7 separate regions of the Homo sapiens genome follow, and all the other regions are linked to region 1. Evidence: promoter capture Hi-C in 16 types of primary human blood cells and fetal thymus (Javierre and others, 2016). All regions are on one chromosome and are shown on one strand. The core of a region is centred on a gene start or on the middle of the fragment in contact, and the rest is flanking DNA. Distances in the headings are between cores, read along the strand shown. Region 1 holds the start of MIR1915HG (MIR1915 host gene). Region 2 overlaps LOC105376450 (a long non-coding RNA gene). Region 3 overlaps LOC105376449 (a long non-coding RNA gene). Region 4 has its middle 17 kb from the start of LINC03027. Region 5 overlaps SPAG6 (sperm associated antigen 6). Region 6 overlaps SPAG6 (sperm associated antigen 6). Region 7 overlaps COMMD3-BMI1 (COMMD3-BMI1 readthrough).

The links. Contacts are between HindIII fragments. The CHiCAGO score rates a contact against its expected background, and 5 or more counts as called.
Region 2: a fragment that was not itself captured here is called in contact with the fragment with the promoter of MIR1915HG in region 1 in 1 of 17 cell types (naive B cells); the score reaches 5.2 in naive B cells.
Region 3: a fragment that was not itself captured here is called in contact with the fragment with the promoter of MIR1915HG in region 1 in 1 of 17 cell types (total B cells); the score reaches 5.0 in total B cells.
Region 4: a fragment that was not itself captured here is called in contact with the fragment with the promoter of MIR1915HG in region 1 in 1 of 17 cell types (total CD4 T cells); the score reaches 6.3 in total CD4 T cells.
Region 5: a fragment that was not itself captured here is called in contact with the fragment with the promoter of MIR1915HG in region 1 in 1 of 17 cell types (total B cells); the score reaches 7.1 in total B cells.
Region 6: a contact is called between a fragment that was not itself captured here and the fragment with the promoter of MIR1915HG in region 1, in 2 of 17 cell types (total B cells and naive B cells). The highest score is 12.1, in total B cells.
Region 7: a fragment that was not itself captured here is called in contact with the fragment with the promoter of MIR1915HG in region 1 in 2 of 17 cell types (fetal thymus and total B cells); the score reaches 7.5 in fetal thymus.

What each region holds. Positions count from the first base shown.
Region 1 is chr10:21,495,714-21,498,652 of GRCh38, forward strand. It overlaps MIR1915HG (MIR1915 host gene), which reads right to left and starts at 1,547. Exons shown (of 2, transcript NR_160800.1): 1 at 1,037-1,547; 2 at 1-232. It overlaps MIR1915 (microRNA 1915), which reads right to left and starts at 928; the gene lies at 849-928. RefSeq lists silencers at 28-467, 518-567, 778-1,027. The HindIII fragment of the contact is 8,649 bases long and covers 1-2,939 here.
Region 2 is chr10:22,471,734-22,474,672 of GRCh38, forward strand. LOC105376450 (a long non-coding RNA gene) reads left to right here. Exons shown (of 3, transcript XR_930748.1): 2 at 462-655; 3 at 805-844. Among named protein-coding and RNA genes, the nearest start is that of LINC03027, 35 kb to the left of the region's middle. The HindIII fragment of the contact is 1,893 bases long and covers 460-2,352 here.
Region 3 is chr10:22,442,296-22,445,234 of GRCh38, forward strand. All of the region lies in intron 1 of LOC105376449 (a long non-coding RNA gene), which reads left to right. Among named protein-coding and RNA genes, the nearest start is that of LINC03027, 5.8 kb to the left of the region's middle. The HindIII fragment of the contact is 4,760 bases long and covers 1-2,939 here.
Region 4 is chr10:22,418,969-22,421,907 of GRCh38, forward strand. No RefSeq gene overlaps it. Among named protein-coding and RNA genes, the nearest start is that of LINC03027, 17 kb to the right of the region's middle. The HindIII fragment of the contact is 3,225 bases long and covers 1-2,939 here.
Region 5 is chr10:22,394,567-22,397,505 of GRCh38, forward strand. The region is part of intron 8 of SPAG6 (sperm associated antigen 6); the gene reads left to right. Among named protein-coding and RNA genes, the nearest start is that of LINC03027, 42 kb to the right of the region's middle. The HindIII fragment of the contact is 3,647 bases long and covers 1-2,939 here.
Region 6 is chr10:22,346,690-22,349,628 of GRCh38, forward strand. The region is part of intron 2 of SPAG6 (sperm associated antigen 6); the gene reads left to right. Among named protein-coding and RNA genes, the nearest start is that of SPAG6, 2.7 kb to the left of the region's middle. The HindIII fragment of the contact is 4,311 bases long and covers 1-2,939 here.
Region 7 is chr10:22,328,487-22,331,425 of GRCh38, forward strand. It overlaps COMMD3-BMI1 (COMMD3-BMI1 readthrough), which reads left to right. Exons shown (of 14, transcript NM_001204062.2): 12 at 114-212; 13 at 562-642; 14 at 727-2,939. The coding sequence ends at 1,056. BMI1 (BMI1 proto-oncogene, polycomb ring finger) reads left to right here. Exons shown (of 10, transcript NM_005180.9): 8 at 114-212; 9 at 562-642; 10 at 727-2,939. The coding sequence ends at 1,056. Among named protein-coding and RNA genes, the nearest start is that of BMI1, 8.9 kb to the left of the region's middle. The HindIII fragment of the contact is 3,822 bases long and covers 1-2,939 here.

The DNA.
Region 1 (2,939 bases), core at 297-2,796:
CGGACGGTCAGGCCCGCCGCTACAGGGAGAAGTGCGGCGGATGGAGCCAGGGCTGCGGGTTGCGCGCGGGCTGGGAACCCGGTGGTGCCACCTTAAGAGTCGGGTCCGCGCAGCGGCTGCGGAGGCGCCCGGCACCTGCAGGGGGCGCTGCTGCCCCGTGGTTTCTCCCGCGCCGCCGCGTGCAGCGGGCCTGGCAGCTCCGGGGCCCCGGTCCCCGGAGGGGGTGGGGACGCTGGGGGAGGAAGGGAGCGAAGTGCAGCCGTTAGGTAACGAACCCGAACCCTCCCGGATTCAGAAGCGGCCTCAGTGAGGCGTTTGCTGGAGGGAGCTTTCCATCATTCGGCCGCGAGAGGAAACGTGGGGAGGCGCCCTCCCCTGCCCCCACCGCCTGCCTTCCTGCCTCCCTCCACCTCCGCTCCCCGACCCCGACCGTGCTTCCCAGACCCTTTGTTCTCGAGGTTGGGAACGGCTGGGTGGGGGTTCCCCGGGGAAGAGGTCCCCCGCGCCGCTCGGAGGGGAAGGGACTGTCGCCTGCCCCGCACCCCAGCCCTCCCCAGTGCCGTCCCCCTTTCCCCCGGCCCCTTCCATCGCGTCCACGCGCTTCCGTTCTCACTCGGACTCCCCCAACTCCCGAGCTCCGGCTCCCCAGCCTGCACGGTCTGCAAGCCCGCCTCCCTTCCCACTTCCCCGCCACCTCTGAGGTCCCCGGGAAGAGGGGAGGAGAGGGAGACGTGTGGGGGAGGAGAAACCACAGAGCCTTCTCGGCGCGGAGCATTCCCAGGGACCCTTCCAGGCCCCGACCCCTGGGACCCGCTGCAGAGGCAGGGCTTTCCCGGCGCCGCCGCAGGTCGCTAGGGCCGCCCCCGCCGCGTCGCCCTGGGGCCCACGGGTGCACGGCCCGGGCAGCAAGGCAAGGTGCGGCCTCTCAGCGCCAGGACCCGAGACCCCCAGCTGGAGAGAAGGGGACACCGTGGTCCGCGCCCTGGGGAGGCTAATTGCACACGAACGCCCCCCTCTTCCCCGCCCCCCACCGTACCCTCTGCAGCGCCACCCGCGTCGCCTCTCCGCCGTGCGCCACCCTGAGGGCTCCCGCGATTGCATCTTCTTGAGCACAGTTACCAATGCGTTCAGCTTCGTTTCTTACTCGGATGGAGACATCGCGGAGGGAAGCGAGGGGACAGGGATGCGGTAGTAGGGGAAAGGTGGGGCGGGAAACCGAGCAGAGAGGTGGGAGACTTGGCTGAGGCAATGGCACCAGGCAGGGCCGCCCGGAGTCCCGAGTCCAGGTCCGCGAGGCAGGCCCCGGTGCAGCCGCGCCCCGGCCGAACCCTACATGTCCTCTGTACTGTGGACACGAGTCCGCGGAGCGCCAGTCACACCCCCGCACCCCTGCAAGCTCCCGCCGTAGAGGGGGCTCGGCACCATCCTGGTCACAAAGTACGTGCCCCCACCCCCCACCCCCAGGTGAAGAGGACGCAGCCCGGCGCCGTCAGCTCCAGGCTGCCTGGAGCCCCCTCCGGCCTCTCGGCGCGACCCTGGTCCTCAATGGCTCGTCGCGAGCTGCGCTAGCTGCTCTCTCGGCAGCGGGTTCCCCAGGACACACCCAGTCCCCACCCCCCGAGAGCTGGCGGCCAGCTCAGGATGCCAGGCGGCCAGGCGGGCGCCCTGCCAAATTCCGCGTTCCTCTCCAGGAGACGGGGAGTTGCGTCCCAGGCTCGGGAAAGCCCGCAGTTCGGGCTTGGGACTCGCTTACAAAGCCCCCCAAGGCGCCAGGGACGCCTCTGCAGGTTGAATTCCTGCTCCGTATCACTTCAATTTTAATTAATCTTTTAAAACACCGCTGTCACGTCGCTTGCAGAAAATTAATCAAACTTGAATCCTTGTTGCATAGCAAGAATTTCGATCCGAGTCTTTTAAAAAGGACTTGACTTTGCAAAGTCACGTCTTTTACAGTTCCCTCATTCCCCCTTTAGCAAGGGAAATACTGCAAAAGTCAAGACATGTTTGTTTGGTTCTTTCTATCTTCAAAATGAAACTTTGCTTATTTCTGATCTTTATTTTCCTGTCTTTGAACAAAAAAAAATAACGAGATAAATTGCCTACCTCGATTAATTCAAAGTATAATTACTTTGAATGATCTTTGTTTAAGAGCCCAGATAAACTAAGATAATCTTAATTTTAATGTGACACGACCCCTATTTTTCCTTGTGAATAATGAGAATAAAGCAGTCATTAATTAATACCAAGATATCTCCATAGAAGATGGTATCTGTTCTCGCTGAGACACTGAAACATCAGTTGTATTAGTAATTGATACTGTATAATTGAACATGAAGATAGCCGTCTATTTTTAACCTCCAAGCTCAGAGTTTATTTGGTGATTATTGAGCTCCTAATAATTAATTTTTTTCCTTCTTACTGCATAAATAATTCTTACGACTCCCAGTTCCCATGCAATGCAGAGGCTTCTCATTAAAACCTACCCCTCAAAATATAAGATTGTGAAGCTATATTGTGCAGCAACTCCTTCTATTTCATTATTTGTAACATATTTCCTCTATTTCATATCTTCCTGGTGCATTTCCTTTGCTGTGATTTTCCTACTAAATCTATGAGAATATAACTATAACATCTTTTACCATAGCTTTGTCTTTCTGTGATCTCTTGGTTCAGTTTAATACACAATACTTAAGACTTCAATTTTTCAAGTTACTAAAATTTGAGGATGAGTTCCACTGAAGAATCAAAAATACTTGTATAGTGAAGTTGCCATGGATTATATTCCCAACCTAACACACAGTCCACTTTAACTCACACTTTTCTGTTGTTAAAAATAGACTTTGCTCAAACACATTCCCTTTTTCCAACTTGAGTTGAAGAGAGTTCTCACAATTTCCTGGGTTAAATGTACATGCTAACACAACCTTTGACATTAAAAA
Region 2 (2,939 bases), core at 156-2,655, 980 kb after region 1:
GCTTCACGTGCAATTCTTGGTGCTCTCCTTGGGATGAGTATCTATGGTGCCTTCTAGAGCTGGTAATTGCAATGTGACCACCATGGACAGCCATTAGCATGTCTGCTCCACCCCTTCTTTGGGTACATGCCCCTCTGGTCCCCCAAACAGAGACCTGGGGCCTTCCTTCACACTCTCCTCTCCCTTCTTCCCCACATCCAAATGGTGACCAGGATTTGCCTTTACCCCGGAATCTTCTCTCCATGCACAGCCCATTCTCGGCTCAGGTTCTCCTTATTTCTCACCTGGATTAATGCTATGGTTTTTCTCAACATCTATGCTTGGCCTCTTTTGTGGGAGGCTTTTCTTGTCCACCTGCACCCCTCAGTCTTGGCAGGATGCCCTATATCTTTGCACTGCAACTTATCCCATGTACACTGATTACATATTTAATTTTGTCTCTTCCTCCAATTCACCATAAGCTTCTTGAGGTTGAAGACTGTGTTTTGTCCTTGAATGGCCAGCTCTGAACAATGCCCGACACATCGCTGATACTCATTGTCTGTTGAGTAAATGGAAGATGATTTGCAGTTGGTGCTGTGTTTTGTGTTACTGGGGGAATCTTGTCCTGAGGGATCTGAGTGTGAATATGCAGCTTCTCTATCTGGGGCTTTGGGTAAGTCCGAGTTGTTTTTTTGTTTGCATCTCTTTTGCAAAAATGAATGAGAACACAGAAAAATCAATGGCATTTAGCACAATGTTATGAATATTACAGGTCAGAAATAAACTTTGTTTTGTTTTGTTTTGTTTTGTTTTCTGAAACAGAGTCTCTTTCTGTTGCCCAAGCTGGAATGGCGTGATCACGGCTCACTGTAGCCTTGAACTTCTGGGTTGAAGCAATCCTCCCACCTCAGCCTCCTGAGTAGCTGGGACTACAGATGTGCGCCACCACCCCTGGCTAGTGTTTGTATTTTTTTTTGTAGAGATGGGGTTTCTCCATGTTGCCCAGTCTGGTCTCGAACTCATAGGCCCAAGCAATCCTCCTGCCTCAGCCTCCAAAAGTACTGTAGAAATACACTTTTTAAATTAAAACAGGCAGGTTGAATGGGGCTCAAACCTAAGGATTTAGTTTTTAGGCTCTATGATGTAGAAAAACATCTGTTTCTTCGATATTACCAAAACCTCAGCATATTGTATAGTATAATACTTGGTTATAGCAGGCATTTAAAAACAGTAAATAATAAAAACAATAAGAGCTATCATTTGAGTGCTTCCCATGTGCTATGTATTTCCTATTCTGAATATTATGTGAATATCTTTAGTCCTCACAACAGTTTTATGAAGTTAGTATTATTATTATTATCTCTATTTAACATTTGAGAGCACTGGGACCCAGAAGACTTCAGTGACATGGTTAAGAACAACCGCAAGTCAGTAATGGCACCAGATATGGACATGGTTGTCTAATTTCAGAGCCCACATGCATTAATCACTACGCCGAAATCGGTGCACACGTGACTAAATCTATGTCATCCTCTACTCAGCTAACTCTCAGCCGGTGAGAGACAGCTGCTGAAATGTGATTTGTAGCAGGCAGAGAAAAACCAGGATTTTTGTTGCTGACATCCTTTCTGATAGTCACAGTTAGCTTACTCAAATTCAGGCAAGTAATTGAAATAATCACATATGCTCAGGTGTGTTTAACATGATGTCTTTTCTTAGCTGTAACTGAAGGTAGACTTCACTCAAAGGCATTACTCCTCAACATCCATCTCAAAATTATCATTCTGGAAGATATTTGCTCATATTACTTGATTTGTGTAGGAGTTAAGGCTTTTTAAAGAATGGATGCAAAATATATTTAGTGCTAAAACATACAGATTTTTGAATCTTTTCTTGTCATGGCAAAAGAATGAAAACCATCTGCCTACAGCCACCCACACCTTTGGAACAGTTTTTACCCTAGTTGGCTTGGTTTTTACTTGTGGATTGAGAAAGATTAAGTATAACGTGGGCCAGAATCACGTTGGCATGAATATGGCCTGACTCTAAAAACTATTTTAGCCAAAAACTTTTAAAAGGCAGCTCTGGGAATTACCAACAGATGGGTTCTCAGATGACCAGCTTTACCTAAACGTGGCCAGAAGGTCTCCACCACACTGGGCAGGCTTGTGGGTTTCTTTAAAATAGTTGGTGAAAAACATCAACCCTAAATTTTACCTTTTCTCTCTGATGTCCACCACTTTGTATTACCAAACCATAAAAATGTGATCCACTGAGCCTACTCATATAAAACATCACAGAAGTGAAGAGGAAATTAGATTCTATTAATTTAGTGCTTTACTCAGTTGTTTAAAAAATGTGTCTGCCTCAAGCTTTCAGTTATAGTCTGGTTCACAATAATATTAAGACCTTTTTTTTTTCCTTTTTCCTCATTGTTAAGCACCAGTCCTAAGTTTTTAAACATTACTTAAAAATACATCTTTAGGGGTTACACCATGTGTCAAATTCTCAAAGATTTAAGGACACATGGAAGGCTTTTTTACAGTTAGGAGACTCAGTTATTTATGGCAAAATTACCAATGTGATACTGAAAAACATTTCTTCCAAGAGCTGTGCACAAATAAATGCATTAATTATTGCTTTAATATTAAGAACTAAAAAACAAAGAAACTGTTTTTAAAATTTCAAAGCCACTCCAATAAACTTCCCAGATTAACTTATCTCCCAGTTTGTCTGGTTTCTTAAGGAGCATGCCTGGACTGTACTCTCTACAGACAGGAAAATGTTCTAGAATAAAAAACAATCAGTAGCTTAACTTGTGTCCAAAAGAAGGCTGTTGAAAGTAAACTATCAACAACTCATAAAGCTACATTATGTTAATAGCTCTTTAACGACGTTTGAAATTGAAAAATGTTAAATATTGAGAATTGAAAAGTCATGGGAAAATTTTTACTGCA
Region 3 (2,939 bases), core at 214-2,713, 950 kb after region 1:
AGATCACTGGTGGCCTGAGGCTAGAGGATGGGGATTGCCAGCAAAAGGGCATGAGGGAGCTTTTTGGCATGATGGAAGTGTTTTGTACCTTGATTGTGGCAGTATACATACAAGTGTATACATTTGTCAAAATGTATGCATTTTATTGTAGCTTTTAGGTAAAGTGTACCTTTAAAAAAAGGTACAAAATAGGAGGTAGGAAGGATTCTCATGACCACCATCAGAAATGATCTATCACATATAAAAAGTTAGATCTGAAGGGACCTTAAATGATCCTGTGATCCAATGTCTTCATTATATAGATAAGGAAAGTGAGGATCAGAAAGCAGACCTTGCCAAAGGATACTAGTTGGTGATAAAAGCAGGACTGGAATCCAGACTCCTGACCACAGTCTTCCTGTCACTCCTTCCACATCCTCAACAGGATCAGGGAAAAGGATGCCCTGGTCTGTGTCCCACTGAAACACATAGAATTTCCAGGGGTCAGTACAAACAGTCAAGAACAGAGATTTCTGTGCTCTGTTCCTAGTTCTGAGAGACTATGGACACGTTCCTGTAACTATTCCATGAGTCAGTGTCTATAATAAAGGTGAATGGAACAATGTTTAGAAATAGAAAACCATGGGAAAACAAGAGCACCTATGCCACACATCTTGGCTGGCAGTGCCATCTTCGGTGTCCTAGGAGTGTGTTGATGGGAAAAGACAAGGAGGGTTATGGAATGATTGAAATGTTATTATTTACTTAGGTTTTACTAAATTAATAAACCCACCTTTCAGGCATGTAAGGTGAGAATTATTGCTAGCTTTTGTAATGTGCTCTATAGAGTAAGATGGAGTTGAAATAATAAATAGTATAGCAACCCATAGTAAAATGCAAATGTTAGTATTTAGGGAATTTGAAAAAGTGAATACAGTTTACTCTCTTTTTAGTGTACTTTCTTCACTCAGAAAAAATGACTTTGAGCCTTGTCCAAAGTCTCAGACATTTATCAGATGTATTTAATTCCTCTGGATGCCGAAGATGCTTTTTAAAAAATGTCTACAACAGATGTTAAAATGCTGTCAGCTGAATGATTCGCTGCTGGGACATCAGAGAGTAATACCCTGCTGATCTGTGGCAATTACCTAGGTAGGGAACAATGGACTTGAACTTTGGATGGAATCTGAACTTTTTTCTAACACAAAGTCATATTTGAAAAGTGAATGATTCAGCAGGGAAAGTTTTTTTCAAGAGAACATTGATGCATTTCTGAAGATTGGGTTTTTCTTCATTTTGGTTTTGGTTGTTGTTACTTCCTCATTTTTCTAATACCTGTATCTTAAAACGATTATATAATAAGCATTTTATTAAATGAGGGCTGGGACGCTGATTTGCATCTAAGAGTTGTGGCTTTTGTCTCATAGTTGCAGGCTGGGAGGAGTCTGCTCCTTCACAAACATGAAATACAGTTGCAGAATAATAACTCTACTGCCAAGTGGAAAGTGGTGAAATTATGGAAATAATTCAGGCCGAAAATATCTACTCTTGTTTGGATAACCCCAGCTGGTTAGTGCTTTGGTACCGAATGGATTCCCCTTGCTTTAAGTTGGGTTAAAAAGGGAAAAACAACCTGGAATGTAAAGAAGTCAGCTTAGGGCTCCCTTAGAGTTTAACCTCAGCAATCCTATAAAATTTAGCTTAGTCTGGGCCCAAATATTTCAGTTAAAGACCTTTAAAAAAGCGATATTTCCACTCTCGGGGCTGCCATTTTTTGAAATATCTGGACTACGCAACATGTGGTATTATTCATTACCCATGCAGACTTTTTACCTGGGTAAATGCACATTTTGCCAGTTTTTGTTTTTCAGTCAACATTGGCAATCATGTACAGGTGACCAGTACTACCTTAGGAACTCAGGAGCCCAGCATGAAATGAGACTCATGACAGAGATGAACCAAAATTTCTAGGTCTCCTACATCCCTGCCTGGCTGGCTGCCACTTCCCCACCATCACTGCTATTCCTGTGGGACTAACGGTTTTAGTCACCTCCTATTTACCACATTGGTGAGGAAGGGATTCTCACCCTAAGGTTATGCCATTGGCCAGACACACAGCACCTGACACTGGACACTTGAGATTGACAGCAGCTTATTAGTCACATGTACTCATAGCCAGGGGGAGAAGGATACGGCACACAAGAGTGAATGAAGATTGTCCTCAGGAACTGAATGAATAAGCAGGGGCTTGGGAGGCAGGCTTTGTGGTAACAAGAGGGTGGGGTGCCCCCTGCTTCCTATAGGATGATGTGATTGGCTTGTTTCAATTCCATGGGCTGGCAGGGAACTGAAACCCAATACTCAGGGATAAGCGGGAACACCACCTGGTCCACTTGATGAGGAGGGTAGCTTGGCTAGGGGACCTTATCTGCTGGAACGGAGAGGGAAGAAGGCTTTCATTTGAGGCAGGCCCTCTTGATTTTCCCCAGATGACAAGTAATACTGCTCCTTACTTTTAGGCCTGACACCACAATAGCAAAGTTAGGACATTATTTCTTGACTACCATCTACTATGCCCTCTTATAACTGGGAGGGAAAAAAAGAGGTGGAGTGTGGCAAAGGATGCAGGCCAAATGCTTCTAGTAAATACTTTCAATTTGTCAAAAAGCAAATGTATACAGAATATCTTTATATGCCATCACTAGAGTAGGCACAGGGACTTAGAGAGGAGTGGACCACAATCTTATTTGGAAGGAGTCACATGGAGGAGATGGGAGGACACAAGTAGATGATTATAATACAGAGTGATGCATGTGGGAACTGAGAGATTTGCACATGTGCTGTGAGAGCACGGTGATGGGAGCGTTTATCCAGCAAGGTGAAAAGTCACAGGGATAGTGGACAGTGGCCCCTGAGCTGGCCTTGAAGGATGAGTTGTAGTTTGCCAACTGGAGAAGGAG
Region 4 (2,939 bases), core at 308-2,807, 920 kb after region 1:
TTTATACAAACTCGACATGTGATTAATGGAAAACCTAATAGTCAATGACAGATTACATATTTTAGCCAGCAATTGTGCAATATTCCCCAGGCCCCACACTCTTAGATAAGTGTAGTTCAAACCAGATGATTTATGATTAAAAAAACCCCTACATTTCCTGCCCTCATGGAGTTTTCTAATATAAACACATTTGCCGAGACAGAGGCAGTGGAATACGCACAAGACACTAAACACAAAGCAGGCATATTTAATGTAGTATGGAAAAACAAATGACAACCCCATATTTACAGGATATTGACCTGTTTTTCTAACCCCTTCCTCTCAAAGAAAACCCTTTTCCTTAAAGAAAGGATGAAAGGTTTGCTTGTTTCTAAACTTGATTTGAGGTCCTGCTTAACATAAACCCTGACCTTAAATTCCTGGGTGAGGCCCATCTCCCATCCCAGATGTCAAGTTTAGAAACCAACCTTGAAAGAATGAAGAATTTTTCTGTTGTGTTTTCAAATAGCCAATTCTTTGATTAAGATAGGTGCTACCAAATGTTGAGGTTTATGTACACTGTGGCTTATTCTGCCACAGAATTCACTGTTTAGAAAATGTTGATTTGTAGCTCTTCTGCTTCTTTCAGGTGATTAAAAGGATCAAGTGGCTGTCCTATAATTATTACATTTACCAGTTGTTTAAGAGACTTTTGACTTTTAAAATTAAATTTGTTCATGCACTTATTTTTCTAGTAACATAAATACTTACATTGTTTTGTTTTTACAAGGCCTTGGTAGGCCATAAAATTAGATGCATATTCAGTGATATTACTTTAGAGAATGGTGGGTTTTATTGTTTTTTAGGTATCAATAAGTTAATTTTTAAAAAAAAATTAGGCAGTATATGAATGGATAAAGAAAGAAGCAAAAATATGACTCCAGATCTCACAACCCAAAACAGAATTGTCATTAACAAGCTGAGATAGTTCCAAATAGCTCTCCAAACCTTTGTACGGCTAGAAAAATTCCGGAAAAATGTATTCATGCTACACATGTTATTTTAAAATTAAAAACAAAAGTTACTGCAGTTTGCTTGTTTCGTGGAAGATAGAGTTTTCACTTTGTTTTTAATTTTAGTGGGTTTAGGGAAAAATATTTCCTTGGGGATTAAGTTAGAGGTCAATACAAAATATTTATAAATGGGCTTCTGTTATTCATGATTGATACATTTTCTGAAGTAGATTTAAACTGAATGCTGGATAAAGAATATTATATCAATATATATCATTATTGCAAAGTGATTTGGTATGGATATTTATACATTAAATAAAGCCTCTAAATTTCCTCACGTATATAGAATTTGTGGTAATACACTCTCGCTAATTTTTTTGTTTTTTTTTGAGATGGAGTCTCGCTCTGTCACCCAGGCTGGAGTGTAGTGGTATGATCTCGGCTCACTGCAAGCTCCGCCTCCTGGGTTCACGCCATTCTCCTGCCTCAGCCTCCCTAGTAGCAGGGACTACAGGCGCATGCCATCACGCCCGGCTAATTTTTTTGTATTTTTAGTAGAGATGGGGTTTCACCGTGTTAGCCAGGATGGTCTGGATCTCCTGACCTCGTGATCCACCCGCGTCGGCCTCCCAAAGTGCTGGGATTACAGGCGTGAGCCACCGCGCCTGGCCCACTCTTGCTAAAATTTATGCATTACTGATAGTAAATGATTTACTCAAAGTATTTTTGGATATAAAGAAGTCCAACTCTATGAAAACTATTGTAACCTATATTGAGTGTTCTGTTTTTTTATTTCTGTCTGCATGTATAGTTTAAGTCATACAAACAATACAAGCGAGTAAAGTGCCAAAGGGAATGTCAACATTTTCCCATATTTTTCTTCACTAACTGAAGATGACCTTTTACTTAGATGAGTGAAATGTGTCCTGTTCTCAGTCCCCAGTGTCACCCAGCACTGTGATGAGCACACAGGAGAACCAGCAGCAGGTTGGACTGAGAGTAAGAGCCTCTAGGCTTCTGGTTGACCTTAGGTCACGCTAGCTCTGACCACAGCAAGTCTCCTCAAGTCTCTAGGCCTTAGTAGACCCGTATAAGAATGTCAAAACTACCACCCCAGTCAGTGGCCTTGGCAAGTTGCTAATAGCACCCACTACATCAGATTCTGAGGATTAAATGAGGATGAGCCAGCAGAAGGTGTGGCATGTAGTAAATGGTGCCACCGTTACTCTATATATCTTTGTATAATATAAAAGGTGCCCAGTCCTCAAGATAGTTTATTTCCATCTGGCAGAAATTATTGTAATAGTCTTATTTTGTTAGAGCAACACACTTTACTGCCATCTGCTGGAAAATTATCTTTATAAATATGGAAATCTGTGATGTCTAATATGTGAACTGTGCCCCCTGAGAAGTGCTGGTGCCCTTGTGAAGTACACAACCTGTGTGACCATGCACATAAGTGCTTGATAAATCATATTTGCTACTCTTCTTTTCACTTTTGTAATGGATTTCCAAAAGAGTTTCAGATAAACAATGATACTGGATGAAGAAATTTATTTTAAAAAATCAGAGTCAAAGTTAATATCAATAAAAAGAATCAGCATTTTGTTGCAACACCTGGAAACATTTTTGCCCACTACTTCCCTCACTTCCCCCTTCCCCCACAGAAAAGTGTGCTCTGCAATAAAACCTGCAATCTAAGTTAGCAGAGATGCTAATTAAGCCATTATTCTTGCATTTATAAACACTGTATGTGAGACCAAATTTGGGGCCACATTGTATGTATGCAAAACCAAAGCACATTTTGGAATAACCCATATGGCCTTTTCATCTTGACTTTAAAAATTGAATAAAAAATATTATATTAATAATGTATCATCACTGCAAGATGGCAGATCTCCGGAAAGCGACACTTCTGGGCTTCATTTTCTTCATCTCAGAACCTGG
Region 5 (2,939 bases), core at 267-2,766, 900 kb after region 1:
AATATTTTTATTCCCCATAAAAGAAATGCTACCCATTAGCTGTGATTCTGTATCCCCTCTGCCTAGCCCCAGGCAACCATTAATTTACTTTCTGTCTCTATGGATTTGTCTCTTTTGGACATTTCATTTAAATGGAGTCATACAACATATATAACCTTTTTAGAGATAGGGTTTCTTTCTGTTGCAGACTGGAGTGCAGTGGCATAATCAACTCATTGAAGCCTTGAACTCCTGGGCCCAAGTGATCCTCCTGCCTTAGCCTCCCAAGTAGCTAAGACTACAAGTGTGTACTGCCACATCTGGCTAATTAATTTTTTCTTTTTTTGGAGAGACAGGGTCTCACTGTGTTGCCCAGGCTGGTCTTGAACTCCTGGCCTCAAGCAGTCCCCCACCTTGACCTCCCAAAGCACTGGGATAAGAGGTGTGAGCCACCACACCTAGCCATGTGCCTGCCTTCTTTACTACTTACTTGAAGTTTCACAGTTCGTCCATGTTGTGGCATATATCAGTATTTTGTTCCTTTCTATTGCCAAATAATATTCTATTGTATTAATATGTCACATTTTGTTTATCCATTTACCAGCTGATGGACGTTGGATTATTTCTACTCTTGACTATTATGAATAATGCTGTTATAAACATTATTGTAACAAGTTTTCGTGTGGATGTATGTTTTCATTTCTCTTGGGTATTTACCCAGGGATGAAACTGCTGGGTCAATAGATAACTCTGTTTAACATCTCGAGAAACTGCCCAACTGTTTTCCATTGTACTACCAGCAAGGTATGATGGTTCCACTTTTTCCACATCTTTGTCAACTCTTGTTATTATCTTTATTTTTGATTGTAGTCATCCTAGTGGGTTTGAATTGGTATCTCATTGTGGTTTTGGTTTGCATTTGTCAAATGGCTAATGATGTTGAAAATCTTTTCATATGTTTATTGGCTGTTCATACGTCTTCTTTAGAGAGATGTCTATTCAGACCCTTTGCTCATTTTAAACTGGGTTATTTATCTTTTTATTATTGAGTTGTAAGAGTTCTTTGTATATTCTGGATGCAAGATCTTATCAGATGTATGATTTACAAGTATTTTCTCACATTCTGTGGGTTATCTTATTTTCTTGATGATATTGTCTGCAGCACAAAAGTTTTAAATTTTAATGAAATTCAATTGCATATGCTTTTTGTGTTGTATCTAAGAAGGCTTTGTCTAACCAAAGGTCATAAAGATTTACTCCTATGTTCCTCTTCATTTTAATAGCTATTACTCTTTGGACCACAATGCTTTCAGAACAAAAATAACTTTCTGAAAAGAATTTTTAAAAATTTTTCAGCAGTTTTCATTCAAGATAATTGTATTTGTTTGTTCTCACACTGCTGTAAATAACTACCTGAGACTGGGTAATTGATGAAGAAGTTTAATTGACTCACAGTTCTGCATGCTGTACAGGAAGCATGGCTGGGAAGCCTCATGAAACTTACAATCATGGCAGAAGGCAAAGGGGCAATAAGAATGTCTTCACATGGCAGAGCAGGAGAGAGGGAGCGAAGGGGGAGGTGCTACATGCTTTGAAACAAGCAGATCTCATGAGAACTCTGATATAGTTTGGCTCTGTGTCCCCAGCCAAATCTCATCTTGAATTGTACTCCCATAATTCCCACGTGTTGTGGGAGGGACCTGGTGGGAGATAATTTGAATCATGGGTGTGGTTTCCCCCATACTGTTCTTGTGGTAGGGATTAAGTCTCATGATAGTGGATGGTTTTATCAGGGGTTTCCACTTTTGCATCTTTCTCATTTTCTCTTGCTGCTGCCATGTAAGAGTGCCTTTTGCCTCCTGCTGTGATTCTGAGGCCTCCCCAGCCATGTGGAACTGTAACTCCAATTAAACCTCTTTTTCTTCCCCATGTCGGGTATGTCTTTATCAGCTGCATGAAAACAGACCAATACAAACTCTACTATGTTTACTCTCCAACACTGAGAGCAAGCCATATCAATAATCCACTAAGGAAAGCAACAATTAGTAATTTTTGGTATTCTTCCAATTTTTAGTGAAAAACAATTGAAATTGTATTGGTTTCCCATAGTATTGTCAATTTTATTTTGTTAATTGCTATTTTTATGTGTAGTGTTAAGAGGTAAAAAAAATAGTGTTGTTACTTACTGTGGTTTTTCCAATAGCCCTAATCAGGGAGGATACAGTCAGTTTTTAGAAATGACGGAAAAATGAATGAAGTTAGAACTGTAGATGCTATGCTAGTTAATAGGTAAACCAGGCCCAAACCCTCAGAATGCCCTCAATAGATAGCCCAGGATTCCTTCTCTGACATCGTCATATATTGTATCTAAGGATAAACATTAACTACTAAATGCAATGACAATTAGGAAAATTTATAATCTGTTATTCATTAGCTCAAGGTAAGATATTACTTGATTTACTGAACTAGGTAAATAGGAGAGTTTTTTTGACCCCATAAAATTTCTGTACAATTCATGGTATGGAGTTGTAAGGGCTATTTTATTTTGCTCACAGCCATAAACAACCAATCATAATGCATATCTTCTAGAAGGTAATGAATCTTAAAACCAACGTGTGACATGATCTTGTATGTAAAAAAATCCTAAGGAATTCACACACACAGACACACACACACACGCACACACACAAATCATAGAACTAATAAGAGTTCAACAAAGTCATGGGATACAAGATCAATATACAGAAATCATTTGTATTTTCTTTTTTGAGACAGGGTCTCACTCTGTTGCCCAGGCTGGGCTGCTGCCCAGGCTGGATTGCAGTGGTGCAATCTCAGCTTACTGCAACCTCCACCTCCCAGGTTCAAGTGATTCTTGTGCCTCAGCCTCCTGAGTAGTTGGGATTACAGGCATGTACCACCATGCCTGGCTAATTTTTTTGGTATTTTTAGTAGAGACA
Region 6 (2,939 bases), core at 203-2,702, 850 kb after region 1:
AAGAATACTTAAGTGTAATGATTACTCTGGGTTTCTTTGAGGGGAATTACTACTGCACCTATGTGATACTTCGTTTTGTCACTAGGATTTTTGGCATTTATTCCTTGTGTGTTTTTATTGGGGGGCATGTATTTACAATAAAGTATATTTTATAATCTTCTAAACGCATTTTAGTTTGAAATAATTGTAGATTCACAACTGTAAGGGATAATACAGAGAGATCCCGTGTACCCTTTTCTCAGTTTCCCCAATGGTAACATTTTTCAAAACTGTAGTGCAATATCACAAGGAGGACATTGACATTGATAAAAATTCGTTGATCTTATATAGGTTTCCTCCTTTTAATTGTTCGTGTGTGTGTGTGTTTTGTCCTATAGAATTTTATTCCGTGCGTATCCACCACCAGCACAGTCAAGATACAGAACACTTTCATTGTCACAAGGATCCTCTCTCTTGCCCTTTTATAGCCACACACACCTCCTGCTATCCCTAACCCTGGACAACCACTAATCTCTTCTCCATTTCTAAAATTTTGTCATTTCAGAATTGATAATCCTTTGTTCTATAGTTGTTTTATATGGGTTGATTTTCTGTATTCTGTGTGTGTGTATGCACCCGTACTCCTCCAAGTACCCAGAACAATACTGGGCACACAGTATTTCATATACACAGACTAACACAGACTAAGGTATTAGAACATGTTACATTTTAGAAGTGTATTTAAAAGTAATTTTAAAGTGTAAACTTTTAAAGTTTTTTCTCTCAGTCCCTCTCAATGACCTTTGTGAATGGACATTTACTACTTAACAAAGATTTAGTTTCTGGACAATATGAATATAGCCAAACTAAAACTTTTAAAATGGGAAAATAATTGATATTATTTTCAAATTTTAATACTGAGATGTTAAAGTATACATAACTTTTAAGATACGGAGTATCATGTTTTAGTGAGTAGTGGCAGGTTAGCTCCTCCCATAAGAGTGCAATGTAGACTTCACAATGGAACTTAATCCAAATTGACTGTATAAGTGGCTTAGATATAAGATTCTACACTTATGGTCTGGCTTAGGAAAGATGAATACGAAAGGAATATAACTTTATGTTTTGAAATTCTCTGCACTTGACTAATATCTGGGTAGCATGCTAAAATGTTTCTTTTCCTGAGGGACTTATTTTTAACAAATTTCATGTTATCGAGATTCAATTCAAGCATTCCTTTAGCAATTTTAAATACAGACATAATGAATATTCAATGTATTTATTCTTTTGATTAAAAAAGAACCTGTAAACTTTGTTATGAAAACTTTTCTTTCTTTCTTTGAGACAGAGTCTTGCTCTGTTGCCAGGCTAGAGTGCAGTGGCATGATCTCGGCTCACTACAACCTCCGCCTCCCAGGTTCAAGCGATTCTCCTGCCTCAGCCTCCTGAGTAGCTGAGACTACAGGTGTGCGCCACCATGCCCAGCTAATTTTTGTACTTTTAGTAGAGACGGGGTTCCAGCATGTTGGCCAGGATGGTCTCGATCACTTGACCTTGTGATCCACCCGCCTTGGCCTCCCAAAGCACTGGGATTGCGCCCGGCCAGTTTTCTTTCTTAATAGTCAGTTTACTTAACCATTCAAATGATTTGTTCTTTTAAAAAATTACAATTTTAAAAAAGGGCTTTAGAATGAGCCTCAGTATGTGTAAATCAATTATACATTATGGTCAAACTTTTTTTCAGTCAAATGCCTTCATTTGGTAGCTTCAGATACCAATGCATATTACTCCTGACTTTGACATACTGTCTACATACCTGGAAGATTTTGTTTGTTTTCTCATTTTTCCCTCCAATATGCTAAGTAAATATATATCATGGATCCAAGATAATGTAAAAAATATTTTCCATATGGGTATCATGATCAAACCAGTAATTCCCTTGTTAAGAATTTTTGAATTTATTCTATGTGAAAGGAATATTAAAGGTGAAAATTGTCAATGGAGTTTTTATTTCATTTTAAGTCTCCAATCTTTTTTATTGTGTTTTTTATACACTAATAAGAGAATTTGCTTTATTAAATATGTCCAAAGTAATTGCCAAAGCAGACAAAGTATGTTGCAAGATCTTTTCTTCAGAGTTATTTGGAAAAGATTAAGTTTGATTTCCTTCTTTTTTGTTTTCGAGACAGGGTTTCACTCTGTCGCCCAGACTGGAGTGCAGTGGTGCTATCTCAGCTCAATGCAACCTCTGCCTCCCAGGCTCAAGTGATTCTCCTGCCTCAGCCTCCTGAGTAGCTGGGATTATAGGTGCGTACCACCACACCTGGCTAATTTTTGTTTTGTTTTGTTTTGTTTTTTTAATAGAGAAGGGTTTTCACCATGTTTAGCCAGGCTGGTCTCGAACTCCTGACCTCAAAGGATCCACCCGCCTCAGCCTCCCAAAGTGCTGGGATTAAAGGCCTGAGCCGCCACGCCTGGGTAGTAAGTTTGATTTCTAAACAAAATTATTACTAGAAAGAACGGTGTACAAAGCATCTATAACCTTGAGGTGTTTTTTTTTTTCCTCACTGAGGTTTTATTCCTCTAAATTAAAAGAACTCATATGAACAATTAAAAAGTTTAATGTCTGTTATAAAATTTCTTTATGTACTCTCAAATTCTATATGTTTGAACCATTACCTCTTGCAGCTATTTAAAAACAAATTTTGATACTTCCCGTCTGAATAATTAGTAACACATGACTGTAATAGTAGAGATAATACATTGTTACTTCTACCAATTGTAAAATTTCAGCAATTGGAGGTGTTTTGTTAGTTATAAAATATAAGAAACATGTTTTGTGGCTTACTGGAACACCAGGCCACTTTTAGTTCTGTTTAGGAGGTCTTTTGAAATACACTAATAGAAGCTCCAAGAAAATGACTTTTAAACTTAGCTATATAAAATACACTTTTCCTGAA
Region 7 (2,939 bases), core at 202-2,701, 830 kb after region 1:
GTCACCTCCAATTTTGTTTGATACTAGTATCTTTTATATTCAAGCAATCAAATTGAAACTTTCTTCATATCTTAAAGTAACTGAAAAAGTTACTTTTCTAAATGTACTTTTAGGTGAATGATAAAAGATACTTACGATGCCCAGCAGCAATGACTGTGATGCACTTAAGAAAGTTTCTCAGAAGTAAAATGGACATACCTAATACTTTCCAGGTATCTACTTTTATATTCTTCTTGCATTTTACATAGATTTTACAATTTTAATTACATTTTTCACTTTGGATTTTGAACCCAAAAAAGCAATAGAAAAAAAATGTGAAGTTAGTGCTAAAGTTGAAATTTATCTTAAAACATTTGGTATACATTCTCTTTTATGCTATGAAAACAAATCCCTTAACACTCTCTAGAAATAATTTTTTCTCATTTGAAGTTTCAGGAGTCTTTCTTTGTTAAAATGTTTGGAGAATATGTTTCTTAAAGCACTTTTGGATTATATTTAAATGACAAAAAATGTACATTTACCTTTGTTCTTTTATTACTTAATAAAAATATTTTTCACTAGATTGATGTCATGTATGAGGAGGAACCTTTAAAGGATTATTATACACTAATGGATATTGCCTACATTTATACCTGGAGAAGGGTAAGTAGCATATCTGTTGTTAGATTATGATGGTAAACTATATTTAAAGAATTAAGAGTAATTTTTTTCCTTTTAACTTTGTAGAATGGTCCACTTCCATTGAAATACAGAGTTCGACCTACTTGTAAAAGAATGAAGATCAGTCACCAGAGAGATGGACTGACAAATGCTGGAGAACTGGAAAGTGACTCTGGGAGTGACAAGGCCAACAGCCCAGCAGGAGGTATTCCCTCCACCTCTTCTTGTTTGCCTAGCCCCAGTACTCCAGTGCAGTCTCCTCATCCACAGTTTCCTCACATTTCCAGTACTATGAATGGAACCAGCAACAGCCCCAGCGGTAACCACCAATCTTCTTTTGCCAATAGACCTCGAAAATCATCAGTAAATGGGTCATCAGCAACTTCTTCTGGTTGATACCTGAGACTGTTAAGGAAAAAAATTTTAAACCCCTGATTTATATAGATATCTTCATGCCATTACAGCTTTCTAGATGCTAATACATGTGACTATCGTCCAATTTGCTTTCTTTTGTAGTGACATTAAATTTGGCTATAAAAGATGGACTACATGTGATACTCCTATGGACGTTAATTGAAAAGAAAGATTGTTGTTATAAAGAATTGGTTTCTTGGAAAGCAGGCAAGACTTTTTCTCTGTGTTAGGAAAGATGGGAAATGGTTTCTGTAACCATTGTTTGGATTTGGAAGTACTCTGCAGTGGACATAAGCATTGGGCCATAGTTTGTTAATCTCAACTAACGCCTACATTACATTCTCCTTGATCGTTCTTGTTATTACGCTGTTTTGTGAACCTGTAGAAAACAAGTGCTTTTTATCTTGAAATTCAACCAACGGAAAGAATATGCATAGAATAATGCATTCTATGTAGCCATGTCACTGTGAATAACGATTTCTTGCATATTTAGCCATTTTGATTCCTGTTTGATTTATACTTCTCTGTTGCTACGCAAAACCGATCAAAGAAAAGTGAACTTCAGTTTTACAATCTGTATGCCTAAAAGCGGGTACTACCGTTTATTTTACTGACTTGTTTAAATGATTCGCTTTTGTAAGAATCAGATGGCATTATGCTTGTTGTACAATGCCATATTGGTATATGACATAACAGGAAACAGTATTGTATGATATATTTATAAATGCTATAAAGAAATATTGTGTTTCATGCATTCAGAAATGATTGTTAAAATTCTCCCAACTGGTTCGACCTTTGCAGATACCCATAACCTATGTTGAGCCTTGCTTACCAGCAAAGAATATTTTTAATGTGGATATCTAATTCTAAAGTCTGTTCCATTAGAAGCAATTGGCACATCTTTCTATACTTTATATACTTTTCTCCAGTAATACATGTTTACTTTAAAGATTGTTGCAGTGAAGAAAAACCTTTAACTGAGAAATATGGAAACCGTCTTAATTTTCCATTGGCTATGATGGAATTAATATTGTATTTTAAAAATGCATATTGATCACTATAATTCTAAAACAATTTTTTAAATAAACCAGCAGGTTGCTAAAAGAAGGCATTTTATCTAAAGTTATTTTAATAGGTGGTATAGCAGTAATTTTAAATTTAAGAGTTGCTTTTACAGTTAACAATGGAATATGCCTTCTCTGCTATGTCTGAAAATAGAAGCTATTTATTATGAGCTTCTACAGGTATTTTTAAATAGAGCAAGCATGTTGAATTTAAAATATGAATAACCCCACCCAACAATTTTCAGTTTATTTTTTGCTTTGGTCGAACTTGGTGTGTGTTCATCACCCATCAGTTATTTGTGAGGGTGTTTATTCTATATGAATATTGTTTCATGTTTGTATGGGAAAATTGTAGCTAAACATTTCATTGTCCCCAGTCTGCAAAAGAAGCACAATTCTATTGCTTTGTCTTGCTTATAGTCATTAAATCATTACTTTTACATATATTGCTGTTACTTCTGCTTTCTTTAAAAATATAGTAAAGGATGTTTTATGAAGTCACAAGATACATATATTTTTATTTTGACCTAAATTTGTACAGTCCCATTGTAAGTGTTGTTTCTAATTATAGATGTAAAATGAAATTTCATTTGTAATTGGAAAAAATCCAATAAAAAGGATATTCATTTAGAAAATAGCTAAGATCTTTAATAAAAATTTGATATGAAAAGCACAATGTGCAGAAGTTATGGAAAACCTATAGAGGATTACAACAGGTAAACGTTAAAGAGAATACATTGCTGACTTATAGTGATGTGGCTAAGAAGTACATGCTTTGTTGTAAAATTGCTTGAAAGCCCA